Regions from separate parts of the Homo sapiens genome. Here region 1 is linked to region 2. The links are contacts of gene promoters, found by promoter capture Hi-C in human tissues and cell types (Jung and others, 2019). All regions are on one chromosome and are shown on one strand. The core of a region is centred on a gene start or on the middle of the fragment in contact, and the rest is flanking DNA. Distances in the headings are between cores, read along the strand shown.

What was found. The method cuts DNA at HindIII sites, captures the fragments that hold promoters and counts their contacts. A contact is called where the count stands out against the background at its distance.
Region 1: a contact is called between a fragment that was not itself captured here and the fragment with the promoter of EIF4EBP3 in region 2, in 1 of the 25 tissues and cell types used here (psoas muscle).

Annotation. Positions count from the first base shown.
Region 1 is chr5:140,735,914-140,741,910 of GRCh38, forward strand. All of the region lies in intron 3 of LOC105378198 (a long non-coding RNA gene), which reads left to right. Among named protein-coding and RNA genes, the nearest start is that of ZMAT2, 38 kb to the left of the region's middle. The HindIII fragment of the contact is 3,756 bases long and covers 1,042-4,797 here.
Region 2 is chr5:140,544,012-140,550,138 of GRCh38, forward strand. EIF4EBP3 (eukaryotic translation initiation factor 4E binding protein 3) reads left to right here and starts at 3,651. Exons shown (of 3, transcript NM_003732.3): 1 at 3,651-3,829; 2 at 4,895-5,065; 3 at 5,223-5,565. The coding sequence starts at 3,727. The coding sequence ends at 5,251. It overlaps ANKHD1-EIF4EBP3 (ANKHD1-EIF4EBP3 readthrough), which reads left to right. Exons shown (of 36, transcript NM_020690.6): 35 at 4,895-5,065; 36 at 5,223-5,565. The coding sequence ends at 5,226. SRA1 (steroid receptor RNA activator 1) reads right to left here. Exons shown (of 5, transcript NM_001035235.4): 5 at 6,057-6,127. RefSeq lists enhancers at 2,598-3,306, 3,307-4,013, 3,774-3,863, 4,014-4,721. The HindIII fragment of the contact is 4,539 bases long and covers 55-4,593 here.

The sequences.
Region 1 (5,997 bases), core at 1,670-4,169, 190 kb after region 2:
ATGATAGCCCACACCACTTGTTGCACTTATATCAACATTATAGGAGATTTAACAACCCATGTAGGTAAGATCACCCAACAGGCTGCCTGGTTACAGGAGGTACAAACCACAGATCCCCTTAATAACGTTTTTAGCTGACTCATTGCAGTATTAGAAATTACTTCCAATCCATCTTACAAACCCTTGTCATTATCATATCACTATCTTGTTCCTATTTTTGATAGTCAAAGTACTTATAAGATCTATAACCAACTACTTCAAGTCTGTCACTAAAACCAAAGTTATGGTAGCACAATGCATAGAAATGACAGACAACATAAACATAAACTTACCTTCTCAACTTTTCTGTTGTTACTGTTTTTCTAGTCTCAAAGGTTCAAAGGGTCTTAATAGCTGTCTGCCTCCTTCTTGCCTGGCCTAAAATATTCAACTGGTTGTAAGTCTCCTAGCCACATGAGTCCCACTGACAGACTAGATAGACCTGGGGCAGGTATCCACACCATCCTGGGAACGACATGGGACATGTTAGAAAATTTAGCCATCAATGCTGCCTATGGCAGATTTCAGCCTAAAGCTGGAAAGTGTGAAATAAAACTAAAGTCCCTAAGCCCCTAGGTGAAACAGAATGGACTTCTTGTTGCAAAAGAGACCCCAGAAACTTTGAAAACTGCATTCTATGGCTTTGGCAAGGCAAGAGGTCAGTCACACCTCAACACTCCCCTACCTTGTTAACTGCCTCAAAACTTTCCTTCCTACAATTAAACAGAAACGAGTTCCTAAAAAACTGTCTGGAAGATTTCTCCCTCAACCTCAAGAGACCTCTTGATGTCATGGCTGACCTCCCCTCTTTTATCGTGGTTTCACCATGACTACTGACCAGCCTTATTAAACATTCCATTGTTATACTGACCACCGACCACAGACTGATTGCACCTAGTCCACAGAGGCTGTGCACAAGATGCCTTTGTGTTCTGTTTCACCTTGTTATATATAAACAGCCACGTGCCACTTCACTTTACTATTAAATCCCCACCCCAAAATGAACATGGAACATATGTAACATATATGTTTATTCTCTTTGCATGCATTAGGGTTTTCTCAAATATTCATAGATTCTCCTATAAGCTACTGAATATGTACATATAGCTCATCTTGTTGGGCATAAGTCCCAGCTTCTCCCTTTTGTCTCTGAAGCAGATGCTTTTCATTTTGGCTGGATGTTTCATTTCCCAACCTGCAGATTGTAACCATTTATAGGAAATAAAACTCTCTTTTTTCTTCTTCCTCAAATCTCATGATCTTTTGTTAATACTTCCCTTCCCAGCAGGGGGGATTATATGAGAAGACTGGACTTAGACCTCTACCCAGTGGTAATGTGGCCATCCTCACTGTGGTGTCAGGGGAGCCAGAACTTCCATGCTTACCCAGCAGTAACAATGAGCTCCCTTCTTCAGGTGGCAATGGAGGCTCTGTGGGGAACCTGGACTTCTGCCTGCACCTGGCAGTAATTAGGTGACATCTCCTTCTTTCTCTGTTCCCCCTTCTGCCTAAATGGTATCAGAGAAATCCCACTAAAACAGAAGGTTTAAATAGGATCCAGAGTAGCGGAATATAATATGAACATATCCAGGTTTTAATGAAAAGTTACTTATCATACCAGAAGATCTCAAACAGAATGAAAAAATGACAATCAACAGATGCCAACATTGTGATGACAGAGATATTAGAATTATCTGACAGAAATTTTAAATTAGCCATTGTAAAAATGCTTCAATAAGCAATTATAAACATTCTTGGAATAAATGAAAAATAGAATGCATAAGCAAAGAAATAGATGATAAAAGAAGAACTAAATGGAAATTTTAGAACTGAAAAATATAATAACTGAAATAAAAACCTCAGTGGATGGGGTGGGTGGGTTCAGCAGCATAATGGAGGAGGCAGAAAAAATAACAAGTGAACTAGAAGATAGAATAATAAAAATTATCCAACCTAAACAACAGAGAGAAATTAGACGGAAAAAAATGAATAGACTTTGATAAGTTGTGGACAGAGCAACCGCTAACATGTTATACAAAGAGATGCACTAAAAAACATAGTATTAACTCAAAATAGAATTTTAGAAAATATTAAAGTAAGATGAAGGCACGAAGAATAAAACAGAGAAGTGAAAATCCAAATGAACAGGAGGCCAGGTGCAGTGGCTCACACCTATAATCCCAGCATTTTGGGAGGCCGAGGTAGGAGGATCACTTGAGGCCAGAAGTTTGAGACCATCTTGGGTGACATAGTGAGACCTCGTCTCTACAAAAAAATAAAAATAAAAAAGCCCCAAAATGAACAATTAGTAAAATACAACATAGATTTCCTTTAGTAACAATTCTCCTCATATCCTTCCTTATTCTTCTTTTTATTCTTCTCTATGATTACCTATTAATGATGAAATACTAGATGTTTTACTTTCTATTTCTTCATAGGATTCCTCTGAATATATTTCTTTCTTTCTCTCTCTCTCTCTTTTTTTTTTTTTTTGAGACAGAGTCTCACTCTGCTGCCCAGGCTGGAGTACAGTGGTGCGATCTCAGCTCACTGCAACCTCTGTCTCCCAGGTTCAAGTGATTCTCATGCCTCAGTTTCGTGGGATTACAGGTGCACACCACCACTCCCGGCTAATTTTTGTATCAGTAGAGACAAAGTTTCACCATGTTGCCCAGGCTGGTGAACATGTTTCTTAATCGTATTCATCCTTTTTAGAATGACAGGGTGGCTTCTCAGAGGTACCATTGGGATCACCTCCAAGTTCTGCAGAATAATTAACTTTTTTTTTTCTTTTTTGAGACAAAGTCTTACTCTGTTGCCCAGGCTGGAGTGCAGTGGTGTGATCTTGGTTCACTGAAACCTCCGCCTGGAGGGTTCAAGCAATTCTCCTGCCTCAGCCTCCCTGGTAGCTGGGCTTACAGGTGTGGGCCACCACACCTGGCTAATTTTTATATTTTTAGTAGAAATGGGTTTCACCATGTTGGCCAGGCTGGTCTGGAACGCCTGACCTCAAGTGATCCACCCACCTAGGCCTCCAAAAGTGCTGGGATTACAGGCGTGAGCCACCACCCCTGGCCCAGAACAAGCAACTTTCAGCCTGATTCTTAAGCATGGGCCTTTATGATAACATTTGTCGTTATAAAATAATTTGTGAGTTGCTCCCTCACTGCCAATTTAATATTTTTAAATTTTAAAACCTATTTTATTTTTAAAAATTTTACTTCTGACCCATGAGATGTAATTAATATTTGTTTTTATAATGAAGCGTCAGGTTTGTTTTTCTTATAAATGACCTTTCATGAATATTTACTTCCATGTTCAGAAAATTTGCTATTCTTATTACCTACTAGTTTTTCTGTAAATTTGCTGGATATTATAATGTTTATAATCATATTAACTCTAAATAAGGAGAGTTTTATACTCGTATTAACTCTAAACATACAGAGTTTTAACTCTAAATAAAAAAGTTTCATATAAGAAGGTGTATCTTCTCACTCATAAGTGGGAGCTAAGCTATGAGGCTGCAAAGGCATAAGAATGATACAGTGCACTTTGGGGACTCAGGGGTGTAGGGTGGGAAGTGGGTGAGGGATAAAAGACTACAAATTGAGTTCAATGTATACTGCTCTGGTGACGGGTACACCAATATCTCACAAATCACCACTAAAGAACTTACTCACGTAACCAAATACCACCTGTTCCCCAAAATCCTACGGAATAACCTCCTTATACTTTTCCCCTTCTTTTTCTAACCATGGAGAATGCCATATGAACACCTCAGACCTTTATATTTTTCTCTTGTTGTATACACTGGTTAGGCCCTTTGGAACAATGACGACAGGATGATTAAAGTGATGATAGCAGACATCCCTGTCTTGTTCTGGATTTCAAAGGGAAAGCTTTAATCATTTCACCATTAAGTATGATGTTTGCTTTAGCTTTTTTTTTTTCCCCTGGACACCCTTACCAAGTTACAAATATTCTCTTATATGCCTAAGGATACAACTAATATCTGCTAAAAATCTTAAGATTAATTAAGATTATTTTAAAATCATGAAAGGTTGTTGAATTTTATTAAGTAATTTTTCTGCATGTACATAGATAATCATGATTTTCCCTTTAGTTCATTAACTTTGCATATATACTAATTACTTTTATAATGTTAAGTCAACCTCATATCTTGGAGAAATTCTACTTATGCTGTATTATTCTTTTTTATGTACTACTGGATTTAATTTTCTAATAATTAGTATGGGTTTTTTTTCATTTATTTACATTAATGACATTAGACTGGGCTTTTCCTTTTTTGTGTGTATTTTTTACAATAGGATTCACTATCAGGTTATTTTAGCATTAGAAAATCATTTAGGAAGTGTTCCTTCTTATTAATTAGGATAGTTTGTATATGATTGAAATGACTTAATTTTTCTTTTCTTTCTTTTTCTTTTATTGAGACAGGCTCTTGCTCTCTCACCCAGGCTGGAATGCAGTGGTGCGATCATGGCTCACTGCAGCTTCCACCTCCTGGGCTCAAGCGATCCTCCTGCCTCAACCTCTCAAGAATCTGGGACCACAGGCACATACCACACGCCCAGCTAATTTTTTATTTTTAGTCGCGATGAGGTCTCACTGTGTTGCATGGGATGATCTCGAACTCCTGGGCTCAAGCCATCCTCCTACCTCGGCCTCCCAAAGTGTTGGGATTATAGGTGTGAGCCACTGTGCCTGGCCCTAACAATTCTTTGTTAGATGAATATTCATGTTAACATTTTTATGCCTTTGCAAAATATAATTCCCAGCAGAACATGGTCATATACCATGATTGTCTCCTTTTCTTCTTTCTACTTTTCCTGAAGTTAATGCTTGACTTTTCTTCATGTGCTTAGTTTTCCTTGGACCTCTTGTTAATTTTTTGCACATTCTTCAATAACTCTTAGTACAGTTTTCTATGTGGTATATCATTTCAGGTAATCAGAGAAAGTATTAATACAAAAGAGCTATAAGATACCAGAATGTTTAGGCCCAGATCCAGAGAGGAGTAATTGTTGTGGGTTATTACCTAGTAACCAGGTAACAATGAAGCTCTGGTAGCTTTAAAGACCCAAGGCTGGCATTTGGCAGTTTGGGAGGATTTCATGGGTCTGACTCATGTACTGGCTGTGAAAGTTGATTTGAGCTAAAATGACCCCGGTTTGGTCATCTGGGAAGCACTGAGGCTGGTCCAAGACTTGTGGCAGGTAGCCACTGAGTGGGAGGAGGGAGAGTGAGCCTAGACACAGCTGGGGGAACAGTTTTTAGGGAAAGGAAGACATGGGTTTCTCTCAGTGGTGTGCATCCTCAAATGGGGGCTTCCCAAGTTTGTGTGTCCTGGTCTGGAAGTTGTGGTGGGTAGAAGGAAACTTAAAACTCAGCATCGTTCTTGAACCATTCAGGCCTAGGCTGACCCTACTGCCCAGGGTATACCAACTCATGACACTTATCTGTCAAGGAACTCCAAATTCAATCTACTTTCTGCATTATCTCAGTGATATATTTGCATGCTTCTTCCTGTCTGTGTTTTGGGGGCAGGTTTGATGTCCATGGACCCTCTTTAGTCCTCTATGTATGTCCCCACCAAGCTTATCATTTTCTTGGAGATGGGAGAGAGCCCTTTTTCAAGGAGGGGTCTAAAACGGCATGGATTCCTGAGAAGACTAGGCTGGGTCAGGAGCTGAAGAGGTTTAAGGTTGGGACAGAAACTCTGGAGGTTAGCCTTGGTAAGAGTCTTTTGAGACCTACTCCATGAGTAAATCTGCTCTTCACCAAATTTCCAGATCCCCACAGTTCCTCTGAGCAGCTTCTCACTACTGTCATCTCTCCCAGATATGAACCAAATCCCTGGTTGCCAAGACAAGTTGACAAGGTTTGAAAAAGAAACTATTTTGAAACAGAACTTCAAGGAAAAATAAGAACCCATTC
Region 2 (6,127 bases), core at 2,401-4,900:
TTAAATTCTTGTTTCTTCATCCAGATTGCATGGATGATGAATCTGGCTTTCTCTCTAAAGCCAATTACCTATTCCCCAGCCCTTACAGCACACAGTGACTCCAGAAGAGTTAGCTGCAAGCAGTAGTCATTATAGTAGTAGTAACTGTGGCTATTATTTTGTGGTAGAGATTAGTAGAAGGAAGACCTCACTTCGACAATGACCGTTCTTGAAAACTTTTGATACTTTTCTCCTGATTTTCCTATTTCCGACTCATCTTTCTCAGTCTCTTTTGGTGAATTCTTTTTCTCTACTATCTTTTAAATAAATAAATGTTGATGTGCCCAGGCTTCTACACTGTATCTTCTCCCCAGATGATCTCATCCCACATTTATTTATTTATAAATAGAGATAGGGTCTTGCTGTATTGCCCAGGTCTTGAGCTCCTGGGCTCAAGCGGTCCTCCCACCTCAGCCTCCCAAAATGCCAGAATTAACAGATGTGAGCTACCGATCCTAGCCCATCCCCACACTCTTGAATTTCACACCACCCAAATTTGAGCCACTAACTCAGAGTTCTCCCCATGGCTTCACTATATCTAGCTTCCTCCTGTGCTCCATCTGAACACATATTATTCATTCCCTCATATAAGATATGCTGCTCTTCTTGTTTTCCCTATCATATTAGTTGGTGCTACTAGCCACCAAGACTCTCAAGCCAAAAGACTGAAAATTATCCTAGTTTACACTTTCCCTCACCCCACTCTTAATCAGTCACTTTATTCTTCCTCTGTGTATCTGAATCTCATCCACTTCTCTCCATCCTCACAGCCATCGCCCGTTTGCCCACCTGGTTTCACTAGACTGGACTCTACCCTCAAATCTCACCATCCTCCACCCTATTCTCCCATTCCCCCTGTCAGACACTTCCTCACGTTGCATAAAAGGTTAGTTATCATAAATGATTCACTACAATCTGTTCCCAAGCTTTACCCTCCAGCACTGCTAAGACACTTCATTTTGGCATGCACCATTTTGTAAGATACTCAAAATCCTTTTCGGGACAATAAAATATACATACCCTTGATACCTGAAGTGTGTTTCTGAGGCCCTGAAGCGTTTGCATTACTGTATTAAAAACTCACAGTTGCAGTCAGGCCCGGTGGCTCATGCCTGTAACTCCAGCACTTTGGGAGGCCAAGCCAGGCAGATCACTGGAGATCAGGAGTTCGAGACCAGCTTGGCCAAGATAGTGAAACCTGATGTCTGCTAAAAATACAAAAAATTAGCCCGGTGCGGTGGTGGGTTCCTGTAATTCCAGCTACTCAGGAGGCTGAGGCAGGAGAATCGCTTGAACCCAGGAGGCAGAGGTTGCAGTGAGCTGAGATCATGCCACTGAACTCTAGCCTGGGTGACAGAGCAAGACTCCATCTTAAAAAAAAAAAAAAACCAGCCAGGTGTGGTGGCTTATGCCTGTAATCGTAGCACTTTGGGAGGCCGAGGCAGGCTGATCACCTGAGGTCGGGAGTTCAAGACCAGCCTGACCAACATGGAGAAACTCTGTTTCTACTAAAATTACAAAATTAGCTGGGTGTGGTGGTACATGCCTGTAATCCCAACTACTCAGGAGGCTGAGGCAGGAGAATCGCTTAAACCCGGGAATCGGAGGTTGCGGTGAGCCAAGATCATGCCATTTGGGCGGCAAGAGCGAAACTCCATCTCAAAAAAAAAAAAAAAAAATCCACAACTGGCTGGGCACGGTGGCTCATGCCTGTAATTCTTGTTTCGGAGGATGCCTGTTTGGGAGGATCGCTTGGGCCCACAAGTTTGAGACCAGCCTGGGCAACATAGTGAGACCCCGCCTTTACAAAAAATTTAAAAATTAGCCAGGTACAGTGGCATGCACCTGTGGTCCCAGCTATTGAGGACACTGAAGTGGGAGGGTCACCTGAGCCCAGGAGGTTGAGGCTGCAGTGAGCCATGATTGTACCACTACACTCCAGCTTGGGTGACAGTGAGACCCTGTGTCAAAAAAAAAAAAAAATCCAAAATCTCACCCAGACCAATACTGTATCAGAATTATCATTTTAACAATATCTCCAGATGATTTATATGCACATTAAAGTTTGAGAAGCTGGCCAGGTGTGGTGGCTCACACCAGCACTTTGGGAGGCCGAGGCAGATAGGTTACTTGAGCTCAGGAATTCGAGACCAGCCTGGGCAACATGGTGAAACCTTGTCTCTATAAAAAATCCAAAAATTAGCCCGGTGTGGTGGTGGGCACCTGTGGTCCCAGCTACTCAGGAGGCTGAGGTGGGAGGATGGCCTGAACCCAGGAGGCAGAGTTTGCATTGAGCTGAGATTACACCACTGCATTCCAGCCTAGGCAGCAGAGCAAAACCCTATCTCAGAAAATAAATAGTTTGAGAAGCAATCTTTTTTTAAATGAGTGAAGAAATCAGACCTAAGGAGAAATCTGATGAAGCCAGAGCTGAGTTAATATTGATAAATGGATGCAGTCAGGTGGTCTATACTTAATTTTTGGTGAGGGGAAGGGACAGTGGAGGCAGTATTGATTTTGAGGAAGCCAAACAGGACAGCCTGATGAATTCAAGATTTCCAGCATATATACATCTTCACCAATCCCACCACCTTGCTCCAGCCTGTCATATCACTGTGTCTACATAAAAAAAAAAAACAAAAAAAAAACTCCAAGGCCAAACTCTCTGACCTTTCTTTCCTTCTAAAGACCAAGCCCTCCTCACTAGCCCCCTGCCCCTCCTTAGTTAACTGGCAAAGAGATCAAAGGGCAGGCCTTCTGACTGGTGATGCCTCAGCTGTAGCCCCCAAACTTGACTCATCCTTTTATTAGTCCAGGTACCACTTCTTCAGAAAGATGACCAGCCCTCACTGACCTTCCCCTTCCTGCTGTGCTCCAGGCCATCAAGGCATGTGTCACCCAGGCTGGAGTGCAGTGGTGCAATCTCCGCTCACTGCAACCTCCGCCTCCTGGGTTCAACCTATCCTTCCACCTCAGCTTCCCGAGTAGCTGGGTCTACAGGCGCATGCTGCCGCACCCGGCTAATTTTTGTATTTTTAGTAGAGTCTAGGTTTCACCATGTTGCCCAGGCTGGTCTCAGACTCCTGGGCTCAAGCTATCCACCCGCCTTAGCCTCCCAAAGTGCTGGGATTACAGGCCGTGAGCCACCGCACCCGGCCTTGTACTGTTACTGTTTATGGGAGGCAGTACACAGCTGGGCTTAAGGGCACAGTCCTGGAATCAGATGCAGTCAGATTTGAATCCCAGCTTCCCTTCCTGCAAGATGTGTGACTTTGGCTAATCATAGTGCTTTACTATCCAAAAGTTGGCAAGGAATGGGTGAACTAATACAGGATAAAAACGCTTGCCCTACTTCACCTGCCCCCAGCTCCCGGCTATAAACAGTAAATAGCTGAGCTGCTGCAGCACTCAGGCAGGTTGGCCAGCGCTGGGCCAGCAGGAACTGGAAGCTGGTGTGGGGCCTGGGACTTTGGACGCATTTCCAGCTTTCTCTGAACCGGGCTGGCTTCCTAGCAGATAGGGCGGGACCGTCGGGTTGAGTGACGGCCGGTGGCCCGCCCTGGGCGTGACGTTGTTCTAGTGTTGTTGCCAGCAGCTGCACGTGGTCGGCTGAGTCCGCCTCAGACTCAGAGCTGCGCTCCTCGACCTCAACGCCAGGCGGTTACTTTGCTGCTCCTCCCGCTCGCTATGTCAACGTCCACTAGCTGCCCGATTCCCGGGGGCCGGGACCAGCTGCCCGACTGCTACAGCACCACGCCGGGGGGCACGCTATACGCCACTACCCCCGGAGGTCAGCGGGCCGGGCAGGGGTCCGCAGGCTGCGGACATATTAGCGCGTGCGTGTTGTTGCGGGGCGGGGGTAGGGGAGGGACAGACCTAAGACTTGTCCGCAGGCCCCTCTACAGGTTGTAGCTTTGGGGGAGAATGTTTGGAGCGGAAGCTCAGTTCCCAAAAACTTCTAAGTGATGCAACAAGGCCATGAGCCTAGCTTCCGGGTGTTTGGGCTGTAATCCTTCACTGTGGCCTGGGTTCTTGGAGCCTTACACACGCTCCTTACCCCTCGCGACTTTGCTTCCTAGGAATAGGGGCCAGGGCCCCCTACTGAGCGTGACCTCAGCCGGAAGCACCGGGTCTTGAGAAGTGGAGTAGTTAGAACAGTTGGGGCAGTTGCTCCGTTTTTGTGCTGCTGGCTGGCGTCTGTTTGGTTGGGCGAGCAGCCTGGGATCACGAGCTGCTGGGCTCCCGACCCAGGGATTCCTGCCACGCGGAAGCGGAGGGGAGGAACAGGGCAGGACCCTTTGAGGACATTATGCGGGCCAAGTTCCTCTGAGCTAGTGTGAACCTTATAGGACCTGGGAGGGGTCAGGATTAGAACAGTACGTTTCTCCTCCCTGCAGGAGATAGCCCAGGTAACAGCACTGGGTGGAACCCTTCACAACTGCTATTTCACTTCTTGAACCACCTGAGGCTGTTAGTCTAGGTCTCACCTTCACTGGTGAGACCAAAGCAGAGGTTTCAGAGTGGTAGAGGAGCAGCATGAAGTACCTGAACTCAAAGTTTGGTGTTCCTCTTAGAGCCAAGATCTGAAGCTCTCCCAAACATAAAGCCCCTGCCTATACCAGCTGGGATGCCCCCCTTGCTTTATACCCACATCTTGGTTAGGTCTGGAAGATTTTAAGCACTATGAAGGCTTGTCTGCTGAGAACCTAGCTGGGCTTCAGAGCCGATGTCCTTTGATACACAGGGAAATTTGACACCACCCTCACCTCCAGGCCCCAAAAGGCCTGAGTCTGGGACCCCAGTCACCTCGGTACCCAAGCTCCTGACTCTTACCTCAGTCCCAACCCCTTGACAGGCACCAGGATCATCTACGACCGAAAGTTCCTGCTGGAGTGCAAGAACTCACCCATTGCCCGGACACCCCCCTGCTGCCTCCCTCAGATTCCCGGGGTCACAACTCCTCCAACAGCCCCTCTCTCCAAGCTGGAGGAGCTGAAGGAGCAGGAGACAGAGGAAGAGATACCCGGTAAGGAAAGCAGGAATTAAGAATTGTCCCAGCCTTTGAGTTCAAATGCCACTGTGACACAGTGCGGGGGTTCAGTTCCAAGAGGGGTTTCTGCACTGATGCTGAGCCTGCAGATCCTCAGACCAGCAACCTGTCTTCCTGCCTTTTCTCTCTCCAGATGACGCACAATTTGAAATGGACATCTAATCCAGTGCAGATGACCTGGCATGTGGAGTTACAGAGGGATCCCTCATGCCACTGCTGCCACCACCTCTTCCTGGGGCATCCAAAGGCCAGCTGGCCTCATCTAATCTGGAAGGGAGTGACTTGTTAGTTCCAGGCCTCCTTTAGTTCTGAGGCAGCTAGACCAGGGATAGGAGTGGGCAACTTGCCAAGCCCTTAACTCTACTTCCTCTTCAGTCTGTGGTACTCCTCCTAACCCTAAACCCTCTATGCTCAGGGGCTGGAACTGGGGAATGGAGTAAGTCACCTTCTGACTGCTTAGTAAACATTCAAAGAAATGCCTTGGCTCCAGTGTTCTCCTCAATGCTGATTTTCTCATCTCAGCCACACAGCTGAAGGCCCTGGCAGGCCTGGTTAAGCTCAGAGGCCTCAGATCATTCCCAGCTCCCACCAGGCCCACTTCCAGCAGCAATTAGAACCTGAGGCACGCTACAGTGGCAGGTTACATGAGCCTCCAAACCATAAACAGCAATAGCTTGGCCACTGCCAAGGGCTGTTCCTGTCTTCCCAGGAAGCAGCCTTCCTGGAACCAGGGCCCCCCAGCAGCCCCTCCCCTATCCATTCCAAAGCAGGACTCTTGGAAAAGAGGTGCTGTCCCAGCCTATAGCCATCCTGTCTCTCCCTGTGCCTTTTCTGCTTCCCACCTCTAAGCACCAGTTCCTCTATTCCAACACCAAAAACCTTGTACCCTTCTCACAGCATGATAGTCCACCAAGTACCTCTCTCAAAGGGTTACAAGAGACCTTAGAGTTCACACTGAAACCCAAAATGAGGCAGCAGTTTGTTTGGCAAGTCAGAGTTACAATCCCCAATCTCAGTAATCTGGTCTTTTTCTCCTTC